3 separate regions of the Homo sapiens genome follow, and regions 2 and 3 are each linked to region 1. The links are contacts of gene promoters, found by promoter capture Hi-C in blood cells and fetal thymus (Javierre and others, 2016). All regions are on one chromosome and are shown on one strand. Each heading gives the region's core, a stretch centred on a gene start or on the middle of the fragment in contact. The rest is flanking DNA. Distances are from core to core; before and after follow the strand shown.

The links. The method cuts DNA at HindIII sites, captures the fragments that hold promoters and counts their contacts. A CHiCAGO score of 5 or more calls a contact.
Region 2: a contact is called between a fragment that was not itself captured here and the fragment with the promoter of ARHGAP18 in region 1, in 13 of 17 cell types (neutrophils, naive B cells, naive CD8 T cells and 10 more). The highest score is 11.7, in neutrophils.
Region 3: a contact is called between a fragment that was not itself captured here and the fragment with the promoter of ARHGAP18 in region 1, in 2 of 17 cell types (naive B cells and neutrophils). The highest score is 6.1, in naive B cells.

The regions. Positions count from the first base shown.
Region 1 is chr6:129,708,069-129,712,411 of GRCh38, reverse strand. It overlaps ARHGAP18 (Rho GTPase activating protein 18), which reads left to right and starts at 2,235. Exons shown (of 15, transcript NM_033515.3): 1 at 2,235-2,388. The coding sequence starts at 2,276. RefSeq lists a silencer at 1,882-1,961. The HindIII fragment of the contact is 10,321 bases long and covers 1-4,343 here.
Region 2 is chr6:130,021,599-130,025,941 of GRCh38, reverse strand. It overlaps L3MBTL3 (L3MBTL histone methyl-lysine binding protein 3), which reads right to left. Exons shown (of 23, transcript NM_032438.4): 2 at 3,637-3,715. Among named protein-coding and RNA genes, the nearest start is that of L3MBTL3, 5.2 kb to the right of the region's middle. The HindIII fragment of the contact is 3,353 bases long and covers 452-3,804 here.
Region 3 is chr6:130,004,900-130,009,242 of GRCh38, reverse strand. No RefSeq gene overlaps it. Among named protein-coding and RNA genes, the nearest start is that of L3MBTL3, 12 kb to the left of the region's middle. The HindIII fragment of the contact is 1,114 bases long and covers 1,347-2,460 here.

The sequences.
Region 1 (4,343 bases), core at 986-3,485:
GCGTCGTGACACATGCCTGTAATCCCAGCTACTCGGGAGACTGAGGCAGGAGAATCGCTTGAACCTGGGAGGTGGAGATTGTGGTGAGCCGAGATCATGCCATTGCACTCCAGCCTGGGCAACAAGAGCGAAACTCTGTCTCAAAAAAAAAAAAAAATTTAGTAGAGTTTTAAAGGATACTTTCAATTCATTCAGGTTTTCCTCCATTCAGTGTTTACTGAAGGCTCAGTAGGTACAAAATTTAAGTTAGCTGTCAGATGAAGAGAAAAGAATCATAGTAGGACCTGAAAAGATTGTGTCTAGCAGATGGAAAGACTTGTATGTATAAGGTAGCAGGAATGCCCAGTGATCTGCTCAAAAGCCTGGAACTGGCTCTGTTAGCAATAGAGAGCCAATGAAGGTTTTTAAGCGAGGAGAGGGATCATGAGTGCCAGGGTGTGATCATAATGTCAAAGCAATTTAAAGGAGGTGACAGGGAGATGAGCTAAAAGGGCTGTTGTAATATTGGAGCTAAGACTGCATTATAGGATCCAGAGGTGGTTGAGGTCATGGGGATAAAAAGGAGACAGCAAGTAAAGTCCTATGGAAGTGGAAATGGGAAGGTTGAGCAGTTGTGCAGGGGGGAGGGAGGAAGATATAAATTCCTTTTAAGGAAGACTTTTGTAAATTATAAGAAAGAGGGTTCAAAAATAAATTTCAGATACTTCTAGAGTATGTAAGGAGGAAGAAATTATTTTTCATGACTGTTTTAAATAATGATAAGGTATAAGCAATAAGTTTATGTAATGATGGAATTGGAAACTTGTTCAAGAGGAATTCTAGAGAGTTGAATGAATCATAAAAATCTAAAAAAACCTTCAGACTACTGGGTATGTCAGAGTAGAAGCCAGGCGTGGTGGCTCATGCCTGTAATCTCAATACTTTGGGAGCTTGAGCCAAGAGGATTGCTTGAGCCCAGGAGTTCAAGACCAGCCTGGGCAACACAGTGAGACCCTCCCTCTCCACAAAGCATAAAAAAATTAGCTGGGCGTGGTAGTGCATGCCTGTGGTCTTAGCTATTGGGGAGGCTGAGGCTGGAGGATTTCTTGAGCCTGGGAGGTTGAGGCTGCAGTGAGTTACAATCACCACTGTACTCCAGCCTGGGTGACAGAGTGAGACCCTGATTCAAAAACAAACCAAAAAAGTGATTTTTTTTTTTGGAGGGGAGATGGGGAGAAAGAACAGAGCTGTCTTTTGTGTTTATGATAATTTTGATCTTGTTTCTTAATCTGCAAAACAAAGAAGAGCATACTGGTGAAAAATAAAAGGAATGTAGCCTAGAATTCTGTTCAAATCCAGCTTCTGGCACTAGCAACTGTGTTATCTTAGTGAAGTTACTTAACTCGTCCCTCAGCCTTACTTTCCTTGTGTTATGTATAACACAGATGATAGTGATACCTATCTTGTACGGTGTGTGTGTGTGTGTGAGAGAGAGAGAATTGAATGGAATGAGATAATACATGTGAAACCCCCGTCCATGAGAGCTTGGCATATAGTAGGTGCTCAACAAATGGCAGGGACTTCTCTTGTTCTCAGCAATAACACTTAACAGAGCATTGGTAGGTCTATCCCTTTTTGGTGCTGAAAAATATTTTGCTAAAACAAGACGTATATTTGAGATTGGCTTTATGTGAAAGACGACGACATTCCAGGACACACAATTTTTATGAGGGCATTTTTAACCGGACACAAGGATCAAGCCTTTCTCGTCGTCTGGATTGCAGAGTTTTGCCGCGGGTTCGTTGTTTTTTACTATGGCTAATTTTAACGCTGAACATGAAGGGGTTAAGAAATGCCTTTACTCATGTTACATTAAGTAGCAGAAATTATAAGATAGAGGAATTGGGGAGGGAAAAAAAAAAGCCTTGGCAGCAACTCATGGTTTCCTAAGTAAGACGGCTTGTAGTTACAGTGATGAGTTGAATATACGTTCTGGCAGTTTAATCTGATCAGACTAACTTGGGGGTGGGTGCAACCCGTCGCTTCCACCCTTCGCCTCCTTTAACCAAAGCCGCCCAGAGTGCAATTGTCCAGAGTTGAAACCATGCTGTGAGTTGCAGCTTCTAATTGGAGAGGCAGGAAGCCCTTCCCTGGACAGACCCCGCCCCTCCCCGTGTGAATCGCCAGCCTGCGGGGAGGAGCTGGCCAATGCTAATGAGCGAGTTGCCAGGCGAGACAGGAACTTCTTTCCCCTTCTCTGTGTCAGGATCGCAGAAAGTATGTCCCTTCTCTCACCATGAGCTGGCTCTCCAGTTCCCAGGGAGTGGTACTAACAGCCTACCACCCCAGCGGCAAGGACCAGACCGTCGGGAACAGCCATGCAAAGGCAGGGGAGGAAGCCACCTCGAGGTAAGCCTTCGGAAGCTGAAAACAAAACAAAACCCTCTTACCTGCTCCAGGAAGAAAGTGACAGGGAAGTTGGCGTGGGGAGAAGGGAATTCCATCTGCACGTCGAGCCTGAGCTCGTGCAGCAGCAGTAGCAACGTTTGGCGTGATTTTTATGTACTTTTCATCTCACCTAGTCCAAGTCTGAAATAACCCATATGATTACTGGTGAAGACAGAGAAGAAGGAACTGGGGAGAGGGCTATATGGGCTGTCAGACTAGCTATTTAGCAGGTGCATTTGCACATGCTGAAAGATCAAATAGGTCTATCTGAAACACTTCCTTTCCTATGAAATGGAATTCTTGAATGGGCTCAAGGCACTGCCACTGGAACTGTTCGCTGGGAAAGTCTGCCAAAAAGCAGGGAGGCTGTTCACTGTACTGTACAAGCTGTTGTTGTTAGAGTGTTTTTTTTCCCCCCTCTCTTTGCTGAAAGCAAACCTCTTAGGCAAAAAGCCCAAGACACTGGCCTGTGGCAATATGTTTCACATTCTTTTGTGTATGTGGATTTTTTTTCCCCCAGGCTTTCAAAAAGGAGTTTTTGTCAGGAGATAGCACTCTGCTGCTGGAGTGAAATGTGGTTAATGTTAAATCACTTTATAGGCAGAGAGGGCAAATGTTCTATAGACCACTGAGGCGCAAAGGGTACCTTTCTCCCTATCTGTGTACTTTGTTCCATTTTCCAAGGGCTTTTTTTTTTCTTTCTCTCCTTAATGACCTTCTCACTAGCTGAACATTTTTACCTCCATCAAGATATAAATAGTAAATATTGGCCTAGAAGATTGCAAGAAGCAAATACTAACCTAATAGCCTAGAACACTAAATTAGTTATCGGTAAGCACATTTCCTCCTCAATGCTTAATGTGATAATAAAACCTTCTTTGTTCTTATGTGACTTATGCCTGTGCCTTAAGCTGAAATAATGCTGCCTTTCATTTGTTTTAAAATCTCCAAATATGAGGGAGGGAGAAAAATCAAAGGAATGGCTGTAATACTCAGTGTTAGACTCCCAGCTGACGGGAACTGTTTCTCACATAGCATCCACAGTATGTATTTCATTGAATGAATTCATTTCCAAAGATAAAAAAGATTTGGTGCTTGTGCCTTAGCTGTGTTACCATTTCATTTTCCATCATTTTAAATGACTTAATGTTAAATCATTAAATCAAGAGATCTTGAAGTGTTTTCATCCATTTTTCTGTAATGTATTAGTAATCATTAAGCAGTAAAGCAGCCTGCAACACCAACCCCATACCCAGCCATAACTTGGATTCCACATGTCAGTCAAAATTGCCAAAATTATACAAGCTCAGGACATTCTCCGACTTTAGGCTGAATGGCCTGAGGACCTGAGCTGAATCTTGGATCTTGATTGTGAGAATGGAAAGGACCTTAAGGACTGAGTCCTAACCTCTCATTTTCACGTAGGACTCAAACCCCAGGGATTAGTTAAGTTTTTGGAAGGTCTGGAGTTCTAGGCCTTTGTCTGGGGCTGCATCTCCAGTTCTGGAGACTCATTATTCTGTGTTTGCAGTGTGGGTGGCCCATACTTGAGTGGGTTGAGAGAATAAGAGAGGATCAGATCATTCTCTGCCTAGGCTGAAGCAGAACCAAGAGGCACTAAGGTGGCAGGGTGGGCAGCTGCCCACACGGCAAGTGCCCTGTGTGGGGCCACAGCTCCAGGTGAGCTCCTTTGCTGGCTGTCACGTAGCCTGCCCATACCAGACCCAACTTCCCACCACTGAATTAGTTCTAGGGATCGTTCCTGATATTGACCGGAGAAGATGGGAGCCTGGTTTGAGGGCAGGGAGGAAGGAGGGAGTAGGGCTAGTTTTCAATGGCTTTTACCCTTAAGGGCTAACGAATCAGATAAACTTGTTGTTGTTTTGGGAGATACCCTGTTTAGCCTGAAAGGATTG
Region 2 (4,343 bases), core at 879-3,378, 310 kb before region 1:
ACTAGATTAGGAATATACTGAGCCCAAGGATTGATGCTCGATGTCTTTGTAGCCCCAACACATACATTCATTCAACCCTGCTGTAATTGTTGATTTTGTGAAGCAGTTCACAACAGTAATTTAGACAAAATAGAGGTTCAATAAGTATCTGTTGGTGGAACACAAAACAATGATTTACAGTATATATGGGAGAAAGAATAATAATGCAGAAGGCATTTTACTGTTACATATAATATACATATCATTCTTATAATCACCATCCAACTAATCAATTCCAAGTCTACTCAGAAAGAAACTACAGTTTATGAGGAAAGTTCCCTCATCCAAGATCACCCAACTTAACTTTACTCAAGTTCCTCTCAAAGATCCTTGTTCATTCCTCCAAACTATCTTGTCTCCCAAATGGGAATTTTCTAAAGGTCTTTCCCAATTTTACTTCATAAATCAAGCTTAGTTATATATCAAGGATACCCTTTCTTGGTGCTTCTTTTCATCCACCCACTGCATAGCTGCCACAGTCAATACAAATCCGTTCATCATTTCCCACTATTGACTTACATCCACAACCACCAATGAAATAATTTAATACAGTAAAGAGATAATCTGAGAATATTCCTGTTAGATAATGAAGCCCTTTAGAAAATATATCTTCCATGGATCCGCTGAACTTCAAGATGTCACATATAAATGTGCACCCATATGAACATATAAATAGTTCTCTCTAAAGACACTATCTTTACCTATACTATAAGCATTCCCAAATCCTTGTGAGGAACAAATCCCTCAATAGTGGCAAGTGGTAACAGTGGAAGATAGTGTAGATCTTCACCAGAAAGTTACCTTGTGAACACACTGGTCAAAGAAAGAATCGCCTCAATCCATCTTGCTAGACTCTTGCTAGACATTCCTTGACTGTGGGTGAAGGGCTTCTTACTCATTTCTGAAGGCGAAGCACTAAAAAAGGAATGCATTATATTGTGCCATGTGTATTGGATGATATGCCATGGTCCTGCATCAGTTAGCCCAGAAATCCATGTTTCCTGGTTCAACAGCTCCAAAGAGTGCTAGAGCCCTCATCCTTTCCTAATGGTACCATGTGCAACTGTTATACTATTATTAGAAGAGCTCATTATGTCTAGTCCCAGAGTAAGGATCTCTAGAACTCCTCAAGAGCAAGGATCTCGTCTTTTAAGTGTTCAACACCATAAGAGCTCAGAAAAAAACTGGTTAAGTAACTAGTAGAAACAATACCGCAGGGATCACTCAAGTTATCCATCCTTGGGATGCCAACGGTACATCCCACCCACCACATAAAGTAAGTTCTCTCATAAATTCCCCATCCTAACTGCACTACTATAAACAGCATTGGCTGAAATATGGAATTCTTAAAAATAAACTACCAACCCAGTCAAAATTCTTTAAGAATCAACTCTCAATTACTCAGGGACTAATTAAACAGGACATATACTTCTTTTTTCCACTCCTATTGGGTTTTTGGATTCTTAGAACATTGATTGGATAATCTCCAAAGAGTGGAGATGAAGTAAAACTAAAACCTGTCAGGGTTTATTTTGTCAGGTTCAGTAGCATCAAATCAAAAATAATAATAGATAGTACTTACAATTTTTTTAATCTAGATTTTACATAGTTGGCTATAATTAGATTGCAGCCAAAGAGGTCTAGAAAACAAGGAGGAAAAGCCCTACTTGGACATTTCCTAAATTCAGTCATTCGGAGGACTCATGTTCTGGCCCCTATAGTTAGTTTAAATCATTACTACTCCAGTTACCTATTTTCTCATCCTCATCTCCCAGCAGACTCATGCAACTAAAATATTAATTACAGTACATTAATTCCCCTCACACCAACCCTTCTACTTTCATCACCCTACCATTTTCACAATTAGGCATCATTTTAAAGTATTTCTTTCATTTACTCCTTCTACTTATTAAATGACTAGTTTGGGATAAATAAATTTCCGGTTTTGTATTCCGCACCATGTTAGAGCATGGTCTCTTCCCTCAAAGAGCCAATAGTATACAAGGGAAACTACTTTTTTCTCAAGACAAGATATACTCCTAGAAATATTCCGAGAAGTCCATACAATACACACATCAGAAACCAATCTAAAAGTTTTAGCCAAGTGTTAAATCACTATATTCTGACTTAGACAATCTACCTCCAGCCCTTCATAAAGCTGGACGAAGGTAAAATGATATGACCACTATACATCTGAATAACTCTTTATGGTTCTCAAAATCTGATTTTATTTGATTCTTTTAACAAAAGATGCAAGGCAAGTATTGCTGTTCCCGCTCTGTAGATGAGGAAATGGAGGCTGAAGGAGGTAGAGTGACATATACAAGGTGATATATCTAGTTATTACATTTAGTCTTCTGATTCCTATTCTAGCATTCTATCCACAGACACAGTGACTCCGCAGACAAAGAAAAATAAGCAGTGTCTTCAACTCAGCACATTTAAACATGAAATTCACCATCTTAGGAAACTGATTTTACTCTTCTTGAACCCTAGTTGTCTGCAGGACCTTCCTATAGCTGTTCTTGCCCCATTGTCTCTGCTGCATATCCACATGGACCAGATCTACTTATTTTGCTAATTATACAATTCAAAATGATCCACAAGCAGCAAATGACAATAAACTCCTGTTAATCATTTTTATATCAATAATTAGTCATTTTGATTTCTAGATTACACCTGGCCCAATGAAGGTTGTTAGTTCTGCTCTAAAAAGGTAGGCTAATTTTGGTTTTCTTTTGTTTTTGCCAAACAAGATTTAGCGACCCCTTTATTACTCAAGACAGAGAGGGCAGGAAAACAGGCAGAAAAGGAGAGGGGAAGATTAAAGGAAGAAAAAAAAAGGTATAAACAGTAGAAAGCACTGGAGTAGCAAAAATGTACTGAAATGTTCTACCTTCAGAGATGGCTGTCCCCTCTGCCTGAGAATGACCTTTGCCCTAAAAGAAGGACCTGGAGTATTGGAAAGAAGCCAACACCCTCCAAAATTACTAAAGAGATCTTAGTAGACAACAGCTGTATTCCCTGTGGAAGTATGTTCAAAAGTTGACAAGTCTAAGCTAACACACTGAAACTCACTCATAACCCTGCAACATGGCACTTGGCACAAGTCAGCCCATCTTGGATTTAAGCCATAGAAGTTATGTGACAAATACCCCCAAAGCACCCAATGTAAATTTCATTCACAAAATTTTACCACTGGCCCCCCAAGACATTTAGAGTTCCAGAATCTTCCATATCACTGTATAACAATGTAACACTTATATTAATTTACAATCATTTTATTCCAGTTTTTCCACTTTTTCAACTCCAAAGAATAAAACATTTACTTTCAGTAGAAAACAGGTGCTAAAATGCTAATTAAGAATCTAGTAAGTAAGGCAATACAAAGATTATCCAGGACAATCTCCTAACTTCCTAATGTTTCATCCAAACTACAATTACATTTAGTGTCAATACATTCATGCATTCAAAGCAGCCCCACAAAATGATGTTTTTCTGCCAACCCAGTCTCATACTCTCCTTCCTGATCTCCAAATGCAGCTTTTTAACATTTGCAGGTATGTCAAGCAATTTATTTCAACAAGTGGGTCTTACCTTTCGGCGGTGATGAAACACAGAACTCTCTGGCGATCTTCACAATTGCTGTCCACTCTCAAGATTTCTCCTAAGGGTTCTAGCATTGGTTTAAAGAGAGGGAAGGTAAAATCAAAACACTGTCATCAAAAAGAAACCTTCAAATCCACCATCCCCAGTTAAGAAGCTTACATTCTGAATCACTTAGGCATAATTTTACACCATGCCACTCGGTAAATTAAAATAAAATAAGCTGGTTCTAGATGAGTTGAAATGGATTTTAATCATTCGTATCATTCCCATGTCCTAAATTCACCCAATAACGTCTCTCCTGTTGTATATGACAGGCAGGTGAAAGTTACAAGGATCATTTGAGTCAACTTTAATTTCCCTCACTGCTTTTATCTTTAAAATTAAAGATATTTTACAGAAAACACACTGGAAAAAGAATAGATATTACATAAAATTTTTGCCCATGTATTTAAGGACTTTAAATCACAAATTATACAAGTATTCAGAAATAATTTCGTACTCAGTGAAACAAAATTACAGTCTTAGAACCAAAAGGGACTACTTACTCGGACTATACATAACTATACAGCTAAGAAACTATATAAAATTGCCTTACACTTATCAGACAGTAAAATGAACAGCTCATATAAAAGACAAATCTCAACTAAAGGTCTTTTCCATTTCTTCAAAGTTTTAAACACATTTCAACTTAGCAG
Region 3 (4,343 bases), core at 654-3,153, 300 kb before region 1:
CTTTGGGAGGCCGTGGTAGGTGGATCACTTGAGCTCAGGAATTCAAGACCAACCTGGGCAACATGGTGAAACCCGGTCTGTACAAAATATACAAAAAAATTAGCTGGGCATAGTGGTGCGTGCCTTTGGTCCCAGCTACTCAGGAGGCTGAGGTGGGGGAATGGCTTGAGAGGCCTAGGTTGCAATGAGCCGAGATCGTGCCATTGTACTCCTACCTGGTGACAGAGCCAGACCCTGACCCTGTCTCAAACAAACAAACAAACAAACAAACAAAAATAAAAATAACTCTACTCCCTCCTGGTACTATTTCCTCTGCCACTGCCCTAGTTTGTCTCCTGCCAAGATTATTACCGTATATTTCTAACTACATCTTCGCCATTACAATTGTATTCCTCAAGTATAGTGTTGGTAATGTTGCTTACCTGCTCCAACCCCTTTTAAATGGTTCCTAATAACTTCAGAAAAACTTTTTCTCCTTGGTATGGTACTTAGTGCCCTGCAACTTCTGGAACAGATCAACCTTTCCATGTGCAGCCCCAACCCATGAGTAAGCCACACCAGGCAAGCCTAGTGCATTGTCATTCTTCTTTCCTTTTGTTCATGTTATTTCCTGAACTTGGAATGCCCTCTTTCTGACCACTCTTGATCTATCCCAATTTCTAGCTCATTTGAAAAGATATTTGTACATTCATGTTCATAGCAGCATTCTTCACAATAGCCAAAAATGGGAACAATCCAGATGTCCACTGATGGATGAATGGATAAACAAAATGCAGTTATATATATCCAGTGAAAACTTTATTATTCACCCTTAAAAAGGAAGGAAACTCTGACACATGCTATAACGCGGATGGACCTTGGCGACATTTCAGTGAAATGGGCCAATCAGAAAAGGACAAATATTGTATGATTCCACTTATATGAGATAACAAGAGTAGTCAAATTCATAAAGACAGAAAGTACAATGGTGTTTGCCAGGGGCTGGAAGCAGAGAGGAATGAAGAGTTATTGTTTAATAGGTCCTGGACTTTCAGTTTTGAAAGATTTAAAAAGTTCCATAGATAGATGGTGATGATGTTTGCATAACAATGTGAATGTACTTACTGCCACTGAACTGTACACTTAAAAATGGTTAAAATGGCAAATTTTATGTCTATTTTTCCACACCTCAAGCAATTTAAAAATTCATCTTTATTGGCATCTATTAAGTACCAGGAACTGTGCTGGGAATTAGGAATACAAAAACAGATAAAATGCTGCCTGTTCTAGTGGGCATATGATTTAAAAGGGCTCAAATTCACCCTTTATATGAAAACTTCAGGTATGCGCACTTGAAATTTAAAGCTTTCTTCTGTCTCTATATCTATTTTAGCACTTGTCACATCCTGCTCTGTATTGTGTCTGGTCCTTGTAAACGTTTGTCTCTCTTTTGAGATAATAAAATACCCTAAGGTCAGGAGCTCTGTCTTATCTATTCATTTTTTAATCTATCAAAGCACTTAATACAGTTCATTGCACATAATGGGAGCTCAATAAATACTTATGGAGTAGAACAGAATGGAATGGAAGTGAACTCCAGCCGTCAGTGATGTTCTGGGCCCAAAATGACACCACCTGATAGACAGTTCTTCCTCAGAATGGTTGTACTGACCAGTGAATGGCATTCGTCAACAAAAAGATCAAAGGAAAGCCTCACTTCAACAACACAACTACATCACTCAATACCAAGTACACAAACATATTGTGGACTCTGTTCATGATCCTCAGTAAACATGACTATCATCTCATATCTGAATTAATTTTCCAAAATTTCAAATTTAAAGCCATGATTTAAGCATGGATGGATGGGTGGGCTTAGGTACCATCCAGCCCACTTACAATCAGAGCTGTGAGCCAACCATTAAGAGTTTTGTGTGAAGAGAAACAGCCACCAATAGTTGGCTTCTGTCTGTGGCCCACTGGAATTTGGAGGATTATATCTCATAGCTGGTTTGACTTTGAGTACATAGCAATAATCAGCACAAATAGCACTTTGAAATCTATACCTTCCTAACCTCTGATAACCCTTTGATTATAAATCATCTAGGTAGCAACAGACATTTAAGCCTGTCCTTTTGAGTGTCAGGGATTTTTCCCCTTATCAAATTGGGATTTTTCTTTTCATTTTCAAGAACAGAGTTCTTTCTTTTGCTTTCTAGATGAGGCATAGGCCCCTGATGCTTAATAATTATAGTTAAACTGTACTGAGTGACTACTGTGTGCCAAGAACCATGCGAAGCATTTTATATGCATTATCTCATGTTTTTTCTTGACAACCCTATGCAGTAGCAAAGTGGCTTTCTTTTGTGTGGGCCTGTCTCAAATCCCTCTCCTTTGTTTTCCTTAAGAACATCACACTTTCCCTTTAGGAGACTTCCTTTCTCCTTCCACATGGTCTTGGGGTCTGTCCATTCTCAAGCTTCCCGACATCAAGGAATGGGCAGGTGATGAGAATGAGGCCAGTTAGAGTCTGTCAGGAAAAATCTTATCCGTGGGATAAGGAACAAGGGTGGATGTAGGCAGATTATTTCAAAGCTCACTCCTCAAAATTCCTCAGTGATACCCTCACGGTCACCCTTGTGCCTATTATCCCTAAGGCCTGATGGTTTAGCTTTTCCTTCAATTCCGTGACATGTCTAATTTTGCTTTTTTTTTCTCTATCTAACATTAGCTAGAATCAGTTTCTTATAAACTATACATCTTCCCAATAAGGCAGTATATAGTTTTCTATCACTATGCAGCAAATTACCACAAAGGTAGCTACTTAATGCACATTTATGATCTTACAGCTTCTACGGGTCCGGGCTCTGGGCATAGCTAAGCTGGGCCCTCTGCTCAGGGCCTCACAAAGTTGCAATCTAGGTGTCAGCCAGGTCTCCTCAGAGGTTTGGAGCCCTCCTGGATGGCGTGAGAAAACCCAAGGTTGTCCCTGAATAAGTGCATTTTCTAGAAGACACAAGATCAATCCCAAAGGGAGGATCATAAATGGTAAAAGAGTAAAGGAGTTCGCAGAAGAGGCTATAATAAAATCTTACCAAAATGAGAGGGTGAGAGACGAAGTCTTCTCAAAGGAAGTGAATAGGATTCTGCTTTACAGAAAAGTGAGGAGTTGCCAGGGAACACAGAAGAAGTTTCCTGATGCTCTAATTTTTAGTGTTGGGGTCCCCAACCCCCAGTATGTAGCCTGTTAGGAACCGGTGCCCAGCAGGAGGTGAGCAGCAGGCGAGTGAGCCAGCAAAGCTCATCTGCATTTACAGCCACCGCCATTGTTCATATTACTGCCTGAGATCCCCCTCCTGTCAGATCAGCAGTGGCACTGGATTCTCATAAAAGCATGGACCCTATTGTGAACTGCACATGTGAGGGTTCTAGGTTGTATGCTTCTTATGAGAATCTAATGCCTGATGATCTGTCACTGTCTCCCATCACCCCCAGATGGGACCATCTAGTTGCAGGAAAACAAGCTCAGAGCACCCCTGATTCTACATTATGGTGAGTTGTATAATTATTTCATTACATATTACAGTGTAATGATAATAGACATGAAGTGCACAGTAAATGTAATGCACTTGGACCATCCCAAAACCCTCCCCCACTGCCCTCCTGCCCCACAGTCTGTAGAAAACTGTCTTCCGCGAGACTGGTCCCTGGTACCAAAAATGTTGGGCAACTGCTGCTCTCACTTTTTCCTGCTCATTATGAGCTAACACATAAGCTTTTTTATAAATAAGAGATGGTGATAAATTACCCACACCTTCAAATTCCATTTTCTTTGGTTGGCCTAAGAAAGTTTGGAAACCAAGGAAAAGAAATACATTTTGTTCAAACTGTAAATCCCATCTCTACTAAAAATACAAAAATTAGCCAGGTATGGTGGTGTGTGCCCTGTAATACCAGCTACTTGGGAAGCGGAGGTGGGAGGATCACTTGAACCCAGGAGGTGGAGGTTGCAGTAAGCCAGGATCACACCACTGCACTCCTGTACTCCAGCCTGGGCAAAAAAGTGAGACTCTGTCAAACAAAAAAAAAAAGAAAATAGTACCTTAATAGTACCAATAGTACCATCACTGGGCTACAGCGTGTATAAACCAGTTTACTGATCACTACTTTTCTTATGTGATTAATCCTATTGCTTCTTGGAGAATTCATTATTTCTGTTAGGCCAAAGGTGCCATTGATGGCCAATAAGGCAAATAACATCAGGGTCATGGGAGAAGGTAGAGAAAACAGAGGAGAAAATAACATTGTACACTTTATCAAACCATAGTATATCTACACCAGAAATACTATGTGTACTAGTATTA